Regions from separate parts of the Homo sapiens genome. Here regions 2 and 3 are each linked to region 1. The links are contacts of gene promoters, found by promoter capture Hi-C in human tissues and cell types (Jung and others, 2019). All regions are on one chromosome and are shown on one strand. Each heading gives the region's core, a stretch centred on a gene start or on the middle of the fragment in contact. The rest is flanking DNA. Distances are from core to core; before and after follow the strand shown. Region 1 holds the start of NPRL3 (NPR3 like, GATOR1 complex subunit). Region 2 overlaps AXIN1 (axin 1). Region 3 overlaps AXIN1 (axin 1).

The links. The method cuts DNA at HindIII sites, captures the fragments that hold promoters and counts their contacts. A contact is called where the count stands out against the background at its distance.
Region 2: a contact is called between a fragment that was not itself captured here and the fragment with the promoter of NPRL3 in region 1, in 7 of the 25 tissues and cell types used here (IMR-90 fibroblasts, dorsolateral prefrontal cortex, heart right ventricle and 4 more).
Region 3: a contact is called between a fragment that was not itself captured here and the fragment with the promoter of NPRL3 in region 1, in 1 of the 25 tissues and cell types used here (H1 embryonic stem cells).

Annotation. Positions count from the first base shown.
Region 1 is chr16:137,118-142,103 of GRCh38, reverse strand. NPRL3 (NPR3 like, GATOR1 complex subunit) reads left to right here and starts at 3,431. Exons shown (of 14, transcript NM_001077350.3): 1 at 3,431-3,462; 2 at 3,770-3,954. The coding sequence starts at 3,837. RefSeq lists an enhancer at 3,502-3,551 and a silencer at 3,772-4,001. The HindIII fragment of the contact is 17,392 bases long and covers 1-4,986 here.
Region 2 is chr16:340,345-345,330 of GRCh38, reverse strand. All of the region lies in intron 2 of AXIN1 (axin 1), which reads left to right. Among named protein-coding and RNA genes, the nearest start is that of AXIN1, 9.9 kb to the left of the region's middle. RefSeq lists an enhancer at 3,315-3,866. The HindIII fragment of the contact is 5,555 bases long and covers 185-4,986 here.
Region 3 is chr16:293,566-298,551 of GRCh38, reverse strand. It overlaps AXIN1 (axin 1), which reads left to right. Exons shown (of 11, transcript NM_003502.4): 6 at 301-830; 7 at 1,326-1,496; 8 at 4,834-4,986. Among named protein-coding and RNA genes, the nearest start is that of PDIA2, 13 kb to the right of the region's middle. The HindIII fragment of the contact is 5,628 bases long and covers 923-4,986 here.

The sequences.
Region 1 (4,986 bases), core at 2,182-4,681:
ACATAGAACAAGACACCATTTTCCTTTCTGGGAATTTCAGGAAAAAAAAAAATGTTATGCAGGCCGGGCACGGTGGCTCACGCCTGTAATCCCAGCACTTTGAGAGGCCGAGGCGGGTGGATCAAGAGGTCAGGAGATCGAGACCATCCTGGCTAACGCGGTGAAACCCCGTCTCTACTAAAAATACAAAAAAATTAGCCGGACGTGGTGGCGGGCGCCTGTAGTCTCAGCTACTGGGGAGGCTGAGGCAGGAGAATGGTGTGAACCTGGGAGGTGGAGCTTGCAGTGAGCTGAGATCGTGCCACTGCACTCCAGCCTGGGCGACAGAGCAAGACTCCATCTCAAAAAAAAAAAAAAAATTAGCCTGGTGTGGTGGCGGGCACCTGTAGTCCCAGCTACTTGGGAGGCTGAGGCAGGAGAATGATGTGAACCTGGTAGGTGGAGCTTGCAGTGAACTGAGATTGTGCCACTGCCCTCCAGCCTGGGTGATAGAGCGAGACTCTGTCTCAAAAAAAAAAAAAAAATGTTATGCAGCCCTGTGCAAGAAAACGCACCTGTTGGTACTGTTGAGCCATTTCAAATGCACGTACCCTTCACCCTGGTGAGGCCAATCCACAAATTTGTTCTGCAAAATACACATTAGTGTCAGTGTTGGTGCAAGAGGGTTACTTGCAACAGTGAAAATGCTCATCCCTCAGTCAAGTGGTTAGGTTCTGATGCATTTGATGTGCTTGGGAAAGTTCTGGAAGCAGCCAAAGAAGCTCATTACCTTTAGTTACCTCCTGGGGAAGCCTGGGATAGGGTAGGTGGGGTGATTTTTTAAAAAACAACTTCATTGAGATATAATTTACCATACCATACCAATTTGCATACCATAAAGCTTATCCACTTCAAGTGTACACTTCCATATCTTTTTTTTGTTTTTGAGATGGAGTCTCGCTCTGTCGCCCAGGCTGGAGTGCAATGGTGCGATCTTGGCTCACTGCAAGCTCCGCCTCCCGGGTTCACACCATTCTCCTGCCTCAGCCTCCTGAGTATCTGGGACTACAGGCGCCCGCACCATGTCCAGCTAATTTTTTGTATTTTTAGTAGACACGGGGTTTCACTGTCTTAGCCAGGATGGTCTCGATCTCCTGACCTCGCGATCCGCCTGCCTTGGCCTCCCAAAGCGCTGGGATTACAGGCATGAGCCACTGCGCCCGGCACTTCCATGTCTTTTAGTGTATTCGCGTTCTCAGAGCTGTCCAACCATTACCACAGTCAACGTTAGAACATTTTCATCACTCCCCTTCAAAAAACCCATGAATCGCTCCATATTTCCCCTGACCCCCTGGAAGCCCTAGGCAGCCACTAATCATTCTGTCTCTATGGATTTGCCTATTCTGGGCATCTTATATAAATGGAATCATATATTAGTGTGTCTTCAAGATGGATTCATGTGCCGTACTTCATTCCTTTTTATGGCTGAATAGTATTCCCTTAAACAAACTATACCATATTCACCCATTCATCAATTGATATACCCTAGGATTGCTTCCACTTTGGGCTATTATGAATAATATTACTAAGAACACACATGTTTTTGTGTGGACATATGCTTTCATTTCTCTTGGCTATATATCTAAAAGGGGGATTTGCCGAGTGTTGTGTTAACTCTAACCTTTCAGGAACTGCCAGCCTGTTTTCCATAGCGAGTGTAGCCTCTTACATTCCCACCAGCAGGAGAGAGATTCCCGTTTCTCCACACCCCTGCTGACGCTTGTCTTTTTGATTACAGCCATCGTAGGAGGTGTGATGTGGCATCTATTTGTAGTTTTGATTTGCATCTCCCTAATGCCTAATAATGTTGAGCATTTTTAATTTCTGTTTTGCCCAGGCTGGTCTGGAGTTCCTGGCCTCTCAGCGCTGGGGTCACAGGCGTAAGCCTCTACCAGTTGAGCTGAGCATCTTCTGGTGCTTATTGGCCATTTGCATAATGCACTGGAAAAATATTCATATCCTTTGTGCATTTTTCAATTGTCTTTTTATTGTTGAGTTGTAAGTTTCCTCCATTCTAGATACAATTCCCTTATCAGATATGTAACTTACAAATATTTTCTCCCGTTCTGTGGGTGGACTTTTAATTTTCTTGATGGTGTCCTTTAAAGCACCGAAGTTTTTGTTTTGTTTTGAGATGGAGTCTCGCTCTGTCGCCAGGCCAGAGTTCAGTGGCACGATCTCGGCTCACTGCAACCTCCGCCTCCCGGCTTCAAGCGATTCTCCTGCCTCAGCCTCCCGAGTAGCTGGGATTAGAAGCAGGCGCCGCCAAACCCAGCTAATTTTTGTATTTTTAGTAGAGAGACGGGGTTTTACCATGTTGGCCAGGATGGTCTAGATCTCCTGATCTCATGATCTGCCCACCTCGGCCTCCCAAAGTGCTGGGATTTCAGGCGTGAGCCACCGCGCCCGGCCGCAGTAAAGTTTTTAATCTGATGAAGTTTAATTTATTCTTCTGTAGTCGCTCCTGCCTTTAGTGTCACTGCCTCGCCCAAGGTCTCAAAGATCTCCTGTCGGCTTCCAAGTGTTTTTTTTTTTTTTTTTTTTTTTTGAGACGGAGTCTCGCTCTGTCGCCTAGGCTGTAGTGCAGTGGCGCAATCTCGGCTCACCGCAAGCTCCGCCTCCCGGGTTCAAGCGATTTTCCTGTCTCAGCCTCCCGAGTAGCTGGGATTACAGGCGCCCGCCACCACGCCCGGCTAATTTTTTTTTTTTTTTTTGTAGAGACGGGGTTTCACCATGTTGGCCAGGATGGTCTCGAACTCCTGACCTCGTGATTCACCCGCCTCGGCCTCCCAAAGTGCTGGGATTACAGGCGTGAGCCACCGCGCCCGGCCTTTTTTTTTTCTTTTTTCTTTCTTTCTTTCTTTTTTTTTTTTTTGATACGGGGTCTCGTCGCTCTGTCGCCCAGGGTGGAGTGCAATGGCGTGATCTTGGCTCAATGCAACCTCCGCCTCCCGGGTTCAAGCGATTCTCCTCTAGGATTACGGGCGCCTGCCACCACGCCCGGATAATTTCTTCTAATTTTTAGTAGAGATGGGGTTTCACTATGTTAGCTAGGATGGTCTCGATCTCCTGACCTCGTGATCCGCCCGCCTCGGCCTCCCAAAATGCTGGGATTACAGGCGTGAGCCACCGCGCCCCGCCCAAGTGTTATTTGTAAAACGAAGAAACCAACATCGAGAGGGACGCTGACTCGACCCCGCGCCTTTCCCATCCGCACCAGCAAGAGGGGCCCCTGTGCCCCAAACGCGAACCGTACGGCTCCAGACAGCACCGCGGAACTCGGTGGCTTCCAGAAGGCCCCGCGCCTGCGCATTCCGCTGCCTGCGCCTGCGCCTGCGCCTGCGCCGTTCTCCCGGCCGCCGCCTTAGCACCTCCTCCGGACGGTGTCGCCGAAGTCTCGCGAGCCCGGAGCGTGGCACGTGGGTTGGTAACTGTGGCGCTGCTCCGCGTCCACCACCACCCCTGTCCTCCTCAGGCCCCCTCCGCCTCCACCCCTGCCCTCCTCAGGCCCCCTCCGCCTCCACCCCTGCCCTACTCAGGCCCCCTCCGCCTCCACCCCTGCCCTCCTCAGGCCCCCTCCGCCTCCACCCCTGCCCTCCTCAGGCCCCCTCCGCCTCCACCCCTGCCCTCCTCAGGCCCCCTCCGCCTCCACCCCTGCCCTCCTCAGGCCCCCTGCGTCCCCGCCTCGTCCTCCTCAGGCCCCCTCCGCCTCCGGCTCCGTCCTCCTCAGGCCCCCTCCGCCTCCGGCTCCGTCCTCCTCTGGCCCCCTCCGCCCCCGGCCCCGGCCCCACGGCGGGATGCGGGACAACACCAGCCCCATCAGCGTGATTCTGGTGAGCTCGGGGAGCAGGGGCAATAAGCTGCTGTTCAGGTACCCCTTCCAGAGAAGCCAGGAGCACCCGGCGTCCCAGACAAGTAAGTGAGCGCTGGGCGGGGGCCTGGCGCTCGCGGGGGCCGCCTCATTCCGGGGTCGCCTCATTCCAGGGCCGCCTCGCGGAGCTTAGCTTTTGCTGGGCATTCGAGATCTGCTCGTTGTAGAGTATTTGAAAAGTAGAAAAAGGAAAAAAAAAATTAAAATCATGCATTGTTCACCACACCAAAGCAACTACTGCTGACATTTCATCAGTCTCCAGCCTTTAAAAAATAAAGTAAAATAAAATAAAATGAGTTTGGGATGTATTCATCATGAGAAAATACAAAATTACACGAACAAGGCCGGTGGCGGTAATCCCAGCACTTTGGGAGGCCGAGGCGGGTGGATCACCTGAGGTCAGGAGTTCGAGACCAGCCTGGCCAACATGGTTGAAACTCTGTCTCTACTGAAAAAATAAAAATAAAAAAAAACAAATTAGCCGAGCGTGGTGGTGCGTGCCCATAATCCTAGCTACTTGGGAGGCTGAGGCAGGAGAATTGCTTGAACCCGGGAGGCGGAGGTTTCAGTGAACCGAGATCGCGCCACTGGATTCCAGCCTGGGCAACAGAGCAAGACTCCGTCTCAAAAAAAAAAAAAAAAGTTACGTGAACATCTGAAGTTGTCTTTGCCACCCCCAGTTCTAGCAAGCACAGGGATCACCCCTGGCCGTGTTGGGAGTTGTCTGCCCTGTGCATAGATGCAGATCTATCCACAGGAAAAGGGAACGTCGCGTGAGGTTTTTCATCGCACGAATTGTTCTGTGGCGCCCTTTTCCCATAGTCGGCCTTGGAGCTCCGTCTGCCTTTGCAAGCAGGGATCAACCTCACCCTTGGCTGCAGGCTGCTGCCTTCCCCTGTGGACGGCATGTAGGTTACTTTTGATTTTTCATCATCATGAATGTTCAGTTTTTGTTTTTATTTTATTTATTTTTTGAGACGGAGTCTCACTCTGTCGCCCAGGCTGGAGTTGAGTGGCGTGATCTCGGCTCACTGCAGCCTCCACCTCCCGGGCTCAAGGGATTCTCCTGCCTCAGC
Region 2 (4,986 bases), core at 1,713-4,212, 200 kb before region 1:
CTTCCTGTGGCTATAGTGGGCATTCCAGGATTGGGCCTTTTTTCCTGCCAACAAAATCTGTTGGTGCTGTTGTGTAGTCCACAGCAGCCTGGACCCTGAGGCGATCCTGGCAGGGCCTGTGGGGTGCGTGTGTTGCCTGGGAGGGAGCAGAGTGGTGCTCAGCCTTGGAACCTGTTTCTTCGTTCTTCCTTCCCTGTGATCCCTGCGTGGTTCCTGGAGGTTTATTTGGCTTTCGGGCTGGCATCTACTGTGCTTGTGAGCAGAGCGCATGCATTTCCCACTCTTTCCCTAGAGCTGGTGACCGGAGGCTCCGGCCTGTGTAACTTTGAAAGCCTGGAATTCATGTGACCCCTGCTGACCTAATCAAGACTCCGAAAGCACAGCCCCATGTGCTGGGACTCTCCTGAGGAGTTATTAAAAACTCGCATTAGTTCTTCAAGCTTACTGTGACACAGAAATTGGCTACTCGCTCATCAACACAGGATTAAACATGTCTAAGGTTAAACTTGTAGTCTAAGTGATACGATTTAAGATGGACTGTCGACTGGGCGCAGTGACTCACACCTGTAATCCCAGCACTTTGGGAGGCCGAGGCGGGCGAATCACCTGAGGTCGGGAGTTCGAGACCATCCTGGCCAACGTGGTGAATCCTCATTTCTACTAAAAATACAAAAATTAGATAGGCGAGTTGGCGCATGCCTGTAATCCCAGCTCCTCGGGAGGCTGAAGCAGGAGAATCGCTTGAACCTGGGAGGCAGAGGTTGCAGTGAGCCTTGGTTGTGCCATTGCACTCCAGCCTGGGCGACAAGAGGACAAGAGTGAAACTCTGTCTCAGAAAAAAAACAAAAAAAAAACAAAAAAGGATTGTGTAGGTTAATTGGTTAATTTTTTTTTTTTTTTTGAGATGGAGTCTTGCTCTATCGCCCAGGCTGGAGTGCGGTGGCGCCATCTCGGCTCACTGCAAGCTCCGCCTCCCAGGTTCACGCCGTTCTCCTGCCCCAGCCTCCCAAGTAGCTGGGACTACAGGCGCCCGCCACCATGCCGGCCAATTTTTTGTATTTTTAGTAGAGACTGGGTTTCACCATGTTAGCCAGGATGGTCTCGATCTCCTGACCTCGTGATCGCCTGCCTCAGTCTCCCAAAGTGCGGGGATTACAGACGTGGGCCACCACGCCCGGCCTTTTTTCCCTTTTGTTCATTGTCTTTAGCCAAGTGGTATTTATTTAGCAAGCATTTTAGGACACAATATGCCGCAAAGTTATCCTGTTGAGTAAGCCTGGTATAAACTGAGAGTTTCTTTCTTTCTTTCTTTTTTTTTTTTTTGAAATGGAGTCTCGCTCTGTCACACAGGCTGGAGTGCAGTAGCACTATCTCGCTATCTCGGCTCACTGCAACTTCTGCCTCCTGGGTTTAAGTGATTCTCCTGCCTCCCGAGTAGCTGGGATTACAGGTGTGTGCTACCATGCCTGGCTAATTTTTGTATTTGTGGTAGAGACAGCGTTTCGCCACGTTGGCCAGGATGGTCTCGAGCTCCTGGACTCCAGTGATCTCAGCCTCCCAAAGTGCTGGGATTACGGGTGGGAGCCACTGCACCTGGCTGGTTATTTTTTTTGCTTGTTTTTTTGTTTGAGATGGAGTCTCGCTCTGTCGCCCAGGCTGGAGTGCAGTAGTGCAATCTCAGCTCACTGCAACCTCTGCCTCCTGGGTTCAAGTGAGTCTCCTGCCTCAGCCTCCCGAGTAGCTGGGATTACAAGTGTGAGCTACCATGCCCAGCTAATTTTCTGTATTTTTAGTAGAGATGGGGTTTTACCACGTTGGCCAGTCTGGTCTCGAACTCCTTTCCTCAAGAGATCTGCCCGCCTCAGCCTCCCAAAGTGCTGGGATTCCAGGTGTGAGCCACTGCGCCCGGCCCCGGCTGGTTATTTTTAAGATGGGACTGAAGTTGAGGGCTGGGCTGCAGGAGGAAAATGAGCTCCGTTCTGATTTCCACTGTTGGAACCCCAGTGCCTCCCTCCCAGCCACTCTTCAGTTCTTGGCTGCGAGCAGTAGCTTTGCTGTCTGTCCTTGGTTTGCTGTATTTGTAATAAGGAACCTTTGCTATGAAATTAGTGGGATACATTGGCTTCTCCTGTCTAATTTTGTGTAGCTCTGTCTACACAGTTTGGGTCCTAACTTGACTGCTCTGGGGCTGCTGGTGGCAGAGGACCCTGGGGCTTGGGAGTCGTGTCTGCGGTTGAATCCTCTCTGTGGGAGGTGGCCTGTGGTGCAGCCTTGTGGCTTGAAGATCTCTGATGTTGGAATGGTTGCTTGTCAGCACAGACAGGGCATGAAGTCCAGGCTGCGTTCCTCACATTTAGACCATTCTCTTTGTCCTGCCAGGTGTAGGTGAGGGTGCACTAGGTTGGAAGTCGTGGAAACCCACCCACCTGAGCCCAACCCTGAAGGGCACTGTTGAGGCAGAGCCTCAGGTGTGCCTTAGGGCCTGGCACCTTTGCTTTGTGCCATTCTGACTTTGCCTGCCTGGTGGGCGACTTCGTGGGCTTTGTGTTGGAGGTGGCTGCTGCAGTGACCTTGGGCTCTGGGCTCCCTTGTTTACAGATGCTTCCCGCAGCTCTGACGGATGGGCCCGCTGTTGCTCTGAGGAGGGCACGTGTGCCGCTGTGTCCCGTCTGTCTCAGCACAGTCACGGTGCGTGCGCTGGGGGCTGTGCAGCAGGGTCACTCCTGAAGGAAAGTGGGTTCTCCACCCAGACAGACGGCTGCTCCCCAGTGGGGAGCTGGGGGCAGTCCTCCAAAGGAAGGCTGCGGGTAATGCAAAGGGAAAAGGAGAGTGGGTACTGAACAGGCGGCTGGTGAGCATTGCTACCACAGCAGGGCCTGGAGCTTAGGCCTCACGTGTTAGGGGATGCATATCCTGTGGAGAGCCGGTTAGTCGTCCCGGTGTGTCCGGAATTGGTGGGTTCTTGGTCTCACTGACTTCAAGAATGAAGCCGCGGACCCTTGCCGTGAGTGTTACAGTTCCTAAAGGCGGCCTGTCCGGAGTTTGTTCCTTCTGACGTTCGGAGGTGTTCGGAGTTTCTTCCTTCTGGTGGGTTCGTGGTCTCACTGGCTTCAGGAGTGAAGCTGCAGATCTTCGCGGTGAGTGTTACAGCTCATAAAGGCAGTGTGGACCCAAAGAGTGAGCAGCAGCAAGACTTACTGGAAAGAGAGAAAGAACAAAGCTTCCACACTATGGAAGGGGACCCGAGCGAGTTACCACTGCTGGCTCCCGCAGCCAGCTTTTATTCTCTTATCTGGCCCCACCCACATCCTGCTGATTGGTAGAGTCCAGTGGTCTGTTTTGACAGGGCGCTGATTGGTGCGTTTACAATCCCTGAGCTAGACACAAAGCTTCTCCACATCCTCACCAGATTAGCTAGATACAGAGTGTCCACACAAAGGTTCTCCAAGTCCCCACCAGAGTAGCTAGATACAGAGTGTCGATTGGTGCATTCACAAACCCTGAGCTAGACACAGAGTGCTGATTGGTGTGTTTACAAACCTTGTGCTAGATACAGAGTGCCGATTGGTGTATTTACAGTCCCTGAGCTAGACATAAAGGTTCTCCACGTCCCCACCAGAATCAGGAGCCCAGCTGGCTTCACCCAGTGGATCCCGCACCGGGGTTGCAGGTGGAGCTGCCTGCCAGTCCCGTGCCGTGCGCCCGCACTCCTCAGCCCTTGGGTGGTCAATGGGACCGGGCGCTCGTCGGGGAGACTCGGTCCGCACAGGAGCCCACGGAGGGGGTGGGGGGCTTAGGCATGGCGGGCTGCAGCTCCCGAGCCCTGCCCTGCAGGAAGGCAGTTAAGACCCAGCGAGAAATTGAGCGCAGCTCCGGTGGGCCGGCACTGCCGGGGGACCCAGCACACCCTCCGCAGCCGCTGGCCCGGGTGCTAAGCCCCTCATTGCCCGCGGCCGGCAGGGCTGGCCGGCTGCTCTGAGTGCCGGGCCCACCAAGCCCACGCCCACCCGGGACTCCAGCTGGCCTGCAAGCGCATGCAGCCGCGGTTCCCGCTCGCGCCTCTCCCTCCACACCTCCCCGCAAGCTGAGGGAGCCGGCTCCGGCCTTGGCCAGCCCAGAAAGGGGCTCCCACAGTGCAGTGGTGGGCTGAAGGGCTCCTCAAGTGCCACCAAAGTGAGAGCCCAGGCAGAGGAGGCGCTGAGAGCGAGCGAGGGCTGTGAGGACTGCCAGCACGCTGTCACCTCTCACCGGGGTGGAATTTGCGTGGAGGAACGTGCCAGGAGGGCCAGCCCTCGGGTGCTGACCCCTCTGTCCTGGAGGCTACTTTGCCTGCATCTCTGCCACAGTCGCTCATCCCCTGCGGTGGGGCTGCTGCGGTCCAGCACGGCCACAGGCATCCAGTTCCCCTGTGGGACGCCTGAGTGCGGGTCCTTGTTGGTCCGTGTGTGAGCCGCGTGGTGGTTTCACATACTTGATTTGAGGAAAGTGAAGTGTTCTGCTTAGGTCTTTGTCTCAGCCTAGGAAAGAGCTCCATTCCTGGCCCTTTTCTGTGTTTGTCCCACTCACCCACTGTCATTTTGAGCTCCTGGGCCAAGGTTTCATGGGGTTCCTCCCTGGCTCCCCCGCTCTGCCTCTGTGGGAACACTTTCTGCACCCTCGGGTCTTTGTTCCCATTGTCAGTGGAACTTTGAACAGAGCTGGCTGGTTCACCTCGTCATTTCAGCGGTGTGGATCAGCAGGCAGGTTCTGCTGTTGACTGAGTGTTGGGCGGGAGGCCCAGGGCCTGCACTCCCTGGCTGGCGGGCTCAGGCTCTGCTTCCCTTCAGGGTGGCTTGGCCCACCAGGTGGCCTTCAGGGCTGGCCTTGCATGCCCCTGCCAGGTCCGCTTGGTCAAGCCCGCAGTCTCCTCGCCGCTGGCCCCTTCTGTTGACTGCCCTGACCTTCCTTGATGACTGGGGACAGGGTCTTCCTGGATATTTTCGTGTG
Region 3 (4,986 bases), core at 2,487-4,986, 160 kb before region 1:
TGGGCAACAGAGCAAGAACTTGTCTCAAAAAAAGAATAAAACTAAACTAAATCTGTGCAGAGCTCTGCCCACAGCCGATACATACGCTGCATTCCTTGAGGCCTTGCTGTCTCCGCTCCTTCTGTCTATGCCCCGTCCTGCCTCTCCATCCTCAGGGACAGGACCGGTGGCGAGGGGCCCCCGGCCACCCTGGGCTGGGACGGCATCTGCTGGGGCTGCTGGGTCAGGCCTGATGCTTTTTGTTTTCCCCAAGTGTGCAGCTGGTGCTGAGAGGTGATGGTGCTGCTTGTCCCCACACAGGAGGAGGAAGGTGAGGACGGCGATCCATCGTCAGGGCCCCCAGGGCCGTGTCACAAGCTGCCTCCCGCCCCCGCTTGGCACCACTTCCCGCCCCGCTGTGTGGACATGGGCTGTGCCGGGCTCCGGGATGCACACGAGGAGAACCCTGAGAGCATCCTGGACGAGCACGTACAGCGTGTGCTGAGGACACCTGGCCGCCAGTCGCCTGGGCCTGGCCATCGCTCCCCGGACAGTGGGCACGTGGCCAAGATGCCAGTGGCACTGGGGGGTGCCGCCTCGGGGCACGGGAAGCACGTACCCAAGTCAGGGGCGAAGCTGGACGCGGCCGGCCTGCACCACCACCGACACGTCCACCACCACGTCCACCACAGCACAGCCCGGCCCAAGGAGCAGGTGGAGGCCGAGGCCACCCGCAGGGCCCAGAGCAGCTTCGCCTGGGGCCTGGAACCACACAGCCATGGGGCAAGGTCCCGAGGCTACTCAGAGAGTGTTGGCGCTGCCCCCAACGCCAGTGATGGCCTCGCCCACAGGTGAGCGTGCGCCTGTCAGTGAGGAGGGGGCTTGGGGTGAGGCTGTGTCCCTGCAGAAGGCCAGAACCTCCTCATAAAACTCAGGAAACCCAGGACCGCCAGCAACAGGCAGGAGGCCCCTCTGCTGGAGGGAGTGGACTGGGCCCTGGGTCAGGGGAGTCCACGCCGTGACCTCAGGTGGGAGATGAAGGTTAGGGGACACAGCCCGACCCTGGCTCCCGCTCTGGCCCTCAGTCTTCAGGGGGTGAGCAGTGACTGCCTGTGTGTTTAGAGAGGAAACCAACCCCCAGACAGCACCAGGACAGCGGGCAGGGGACAGCGGGTGGGGGACAAGCTGGCGGGGGACAGCGGGTGGGGGACAAGCGGGCAGGGGACAGCGGGCGGCGGCTGCACCACGGGAGCCTTACAGATGCCAGGAGGGGGCCTCGCAGACGAGGAAGGGGCACAGCCTCGGCCACCGGAGGCCAGGGCGACTCGCAGCTCTTGCCCTTGCAGTGGGAAGGTGGGCGTGGCGTGCAAAAGAAATGCCAAGAAGGCTGAGTCGGGGAAGAGCGCCAGCACCGAGGTGCCAGGTGCCTCGGAGGATGCGGAGAAGAACCAGAAAATCATGCAGTGGATCATTGAGGGGGAAAAGGAGATCAGCAGGCACCGCAGGACCGGCCACGGGTGAGCACCCCGCACGCAGCCAGCCTCGTGGGGCCTGCTTTGCCACCCCTGGCCTCCGCACAGTCTCAGTGTGTGCAGCTTCAGTGTGTGTGGCGAGTGTCGCCTGTGACGCCTCACACTTCCCCTGTCACTGTGGCACCCTCCCGGGCACCCTCCAGCAGGCTCCCTGGGCCCCACGTCTCCAGGAGGAAAACCTCATGTCCCCAGAGAGAGGCTGTCCCTGAAGCCCCGAGCAGGAGGGAAGCTGACGTGGCTGTCACCCCGCAGGCAGCACAGATGCTCTCGGGAGGTCATTTCCAGTCTGACCCCCACATGAGAATGACCTAAGTCACCTGGGAAGGCCCCCACTGACCATCACTCCCGAGGTGCCCACGGAGGAGCCTTCTGTGCTCACACCTGGCCGTCCTGCTGAGGGCTGGGGAAGGCTCTTGTGTAGCGTGAGCACTTCTCTCCTCCCAGAAGGGCAGAGGCCTCGTGTGTGGTGTGGAGCAAGGCCCCGGCGCCACAGGTCCAGCCCCTGCCGCTGCCCGCCGGGCCGGTCTTGGTGTTGCTCCTGCTCGCCCCCTGGGCCTGCACTCGTGCCCGGAACCCAGCAGGAGGGCCAGGGGCCCCACAGAGGTGGTACCCCCCACCTTCCTGTCGTGGTCAGAGGCAGGTCAGCTGGGAAGTGTTGGCCCTGGTGGGTGGATGGCCCCAGCTTCCTCAGACTTAGGTCCTGATCTGCCCCCCACCCTCACCCAGGCCCTGGCCAGGACGCATCTCCCTCCACATTACTTGATGAGAACTTGTGAGGCAGCTGAGCGCCTGGGGCGTGGCCCTCCTGCCTGTGTTGGAAGCCTGTCCCGCAAGGCCTTGGGGTCCCCATCGGTGCTGACTGAGGTGGGGACGGGCTCATCGTTTTTCTGGGGCTCCCGAGGGAACAGGGGTGCACAGCACCTTGCCTGGCTCATTTTTTGTAGAGGGGGTCTCAGTGTGTTGCCCAGCTGGGTCTCAAGCTTTTGGGCTCAAGTGATCCTCCCACCTTGGCCTCCCAAAATGCTGGGACTACAGGCATGAGCCACCATTCCTGGCCTTCGAGTCTTTTTTTTTGAGACGGAGTCTAGCTCTGTCGCCCGGGCTGGAGTGCAGTGGTGCAATCTTGGCTAACTGCAACCTCCACCTCCTGGGTTCAAGCAATTCTCCTGCCTCAGCCTCCCGAGTAGCTGGGATTACAGGCGTGAGCCACCACGCCCGGCTGATTTTTGTATTTTTAGTAGAGACCGGGGCAGGGGGTGGTTGCCATGTTAGGCTGATCTCGAACTCCCAACCTTTGGTGATCCGCCTGCCTCGGCCTCCTGGAGTGCTAGGATTACAGGCGTGAGCCACCGTGCCCGGCCGAATCCTTTTTTTAAATAGCTGTATATACTAAATATTGCATGTCCCATATTTTAGGATAAGTATTAATACATTCCACTTTGAGACATACTTATACTTTTTATTCATTAAGACTTTTTTTTTAATTTTTTGCGACAGAGTCTCCCTCTGTCACCCTGGCTGAAGTGCAGTGGTGTAATCACACCGTTCACTGCAGTCTCAGCCTCCTGGACTCAAAGCTATCCGCCGGCCTCTAGGATTAGTATATAATTTGTATCCCAGTAAAGCTGTTAAAAATAAAATGTAAAAAAAGAAGCCTCATCCCAGCACTTTGGGAGGCCGAGGCAGGTGGATCGCTTGAGGTCCGGAGTTCGAGACCAGACTGGCCAACATGACAAAAACTCCATCTCTACTAAAAAAAATACAAAAAATTAGCCGTGTGTGGTGGCGAGTGCCAGTAATCCCAGCTACTCGGTGGCTGAGGCAGGAGAGTCGCTTGAACCTGGGAGGCGGAGATTGCAGTGAGCCGAGATCCGAGGTCGAGCCATTGCACTGCAGCCTGGGCAACAAGAGCAAAACTCTGTCTCAAAAAAAGAAAAAAAAAAAGTCTCCATGAAAGAATTTTTTTTTTTTTTTTTTGAGACGGAGTCTTGCTCTGTTGCCCAGGCTGGAGTGCAGTGGCCTGATCTCAGCTCACTGCAAGCCTCGCCTCCCGGGTTCATGCCATTCTCCTGCCTCAGCCTCAAGAGCAGCTGGGACTGCAGGCGCCCGCCACCACGCCCGGCTAATTTTTTGTATTTTTTTAGTAGAGGTGGGGTTTCACCGTGTTAGCCAGGACGGTCTCGATCTCTTGACCTCGTGATCCGCCCTCCTCAGCCTCCCAAAGTGCTGGGATTACAGGCGTGAGCCACCGCGCCTGGCCTTTTTTTTTTTTTTTTTTTTTTTTTGAGATGGGGTTTCGCTCCTGTGGCTCAGGCTGGAGTGCAACAGGCCAGTGTCAACGCACTGCAACCTCCACCTCCCAGGTTCAAGTGGTTCTCCTGTCTAACCCACCTGAGTAGCTGGGATTACAGGCACCCACTATTATGCCCAGTTAACTTTTTGTATTTTTGTAGAAACAGGGTTTCACCATGTTGGCCAGGCTGGTCTTGAACTCCTGACCTCAGATGATCCACCCGCCTCGGCCTCCCAGCGTGCTGGGATTACCGCGCCTGGCCATTTTTTTTTTTTTTTTTTTTTTTTGAGATGGAGTCTCACTCTTGCCTAGGCTGGAGTGCAGTGGTGCAATCTCAGCTCACCGCAACCTCTGCCTCCCAGGTTCAAGCGATTCTCCTGCCTCAGCCTCCCGAGTAACTAGAATTACTGGTATCCACCACCACACTTGGGTAATTTTTTGTATTTTTTGAGTAGAGTCATGGTTTTGCCATGTTGGCCAGGCTGTTCTTGAACTCCTGACCTCAGGCGATCCACCCACCTTGGCCTCCCAGAGTATTGGGATTACAGGCAAATGAGGGTTGGTTTTTTGTTGTCTTTTTTATTCCTGAGACTGAGCCTCACTCTGTCACCCAGGCTGGAGTGCGGTGGCGTGATCCCGGCTCACTGTAACCTCCACTTCCCCAGTTCCAGCCATTCTCGGGCCCCAGCCTCCAGAGTAGCAGGGATGACAGGCGCCCAGCTAATTTTGTATATTTAGTAGCGATGAGGTTTCACCATGTTAGGTTGATCTCGAACTCCCGACCTCTGGTGATCTGCCCGCCTCGGCCTCCCGAAATGCTGGGATTACAGGTGTGAGCCACCATGCCTGGCCGGGATGTTTTTATTGTGTGGTCTGTGGAGGACGTCCATGTGGCTTGGTGGCCAGGCCCCAGTGCCCCATCCCATCCTATCCCTCAAGGAGGCTGCCCTTGTGAGATGAGTGTAGCCCCACCAGGCCACCTGGCCAGGGTGTCGGCCACAGTCACAACTTGTTCTCTTGTTCCCCAAGGTCTTCGGGGACGAGGAAGCCACAGCCCCATGAGAACTCCAGACCCTTGTCCCTTGAGCACCCCTGGGCCGGCCCTCAGCTCCGGACCTCCGTGCAGCCCTCCCACCTCTTCATCCAAGACCCCACCATGCCACCCCACCCAGCTCCCAACCC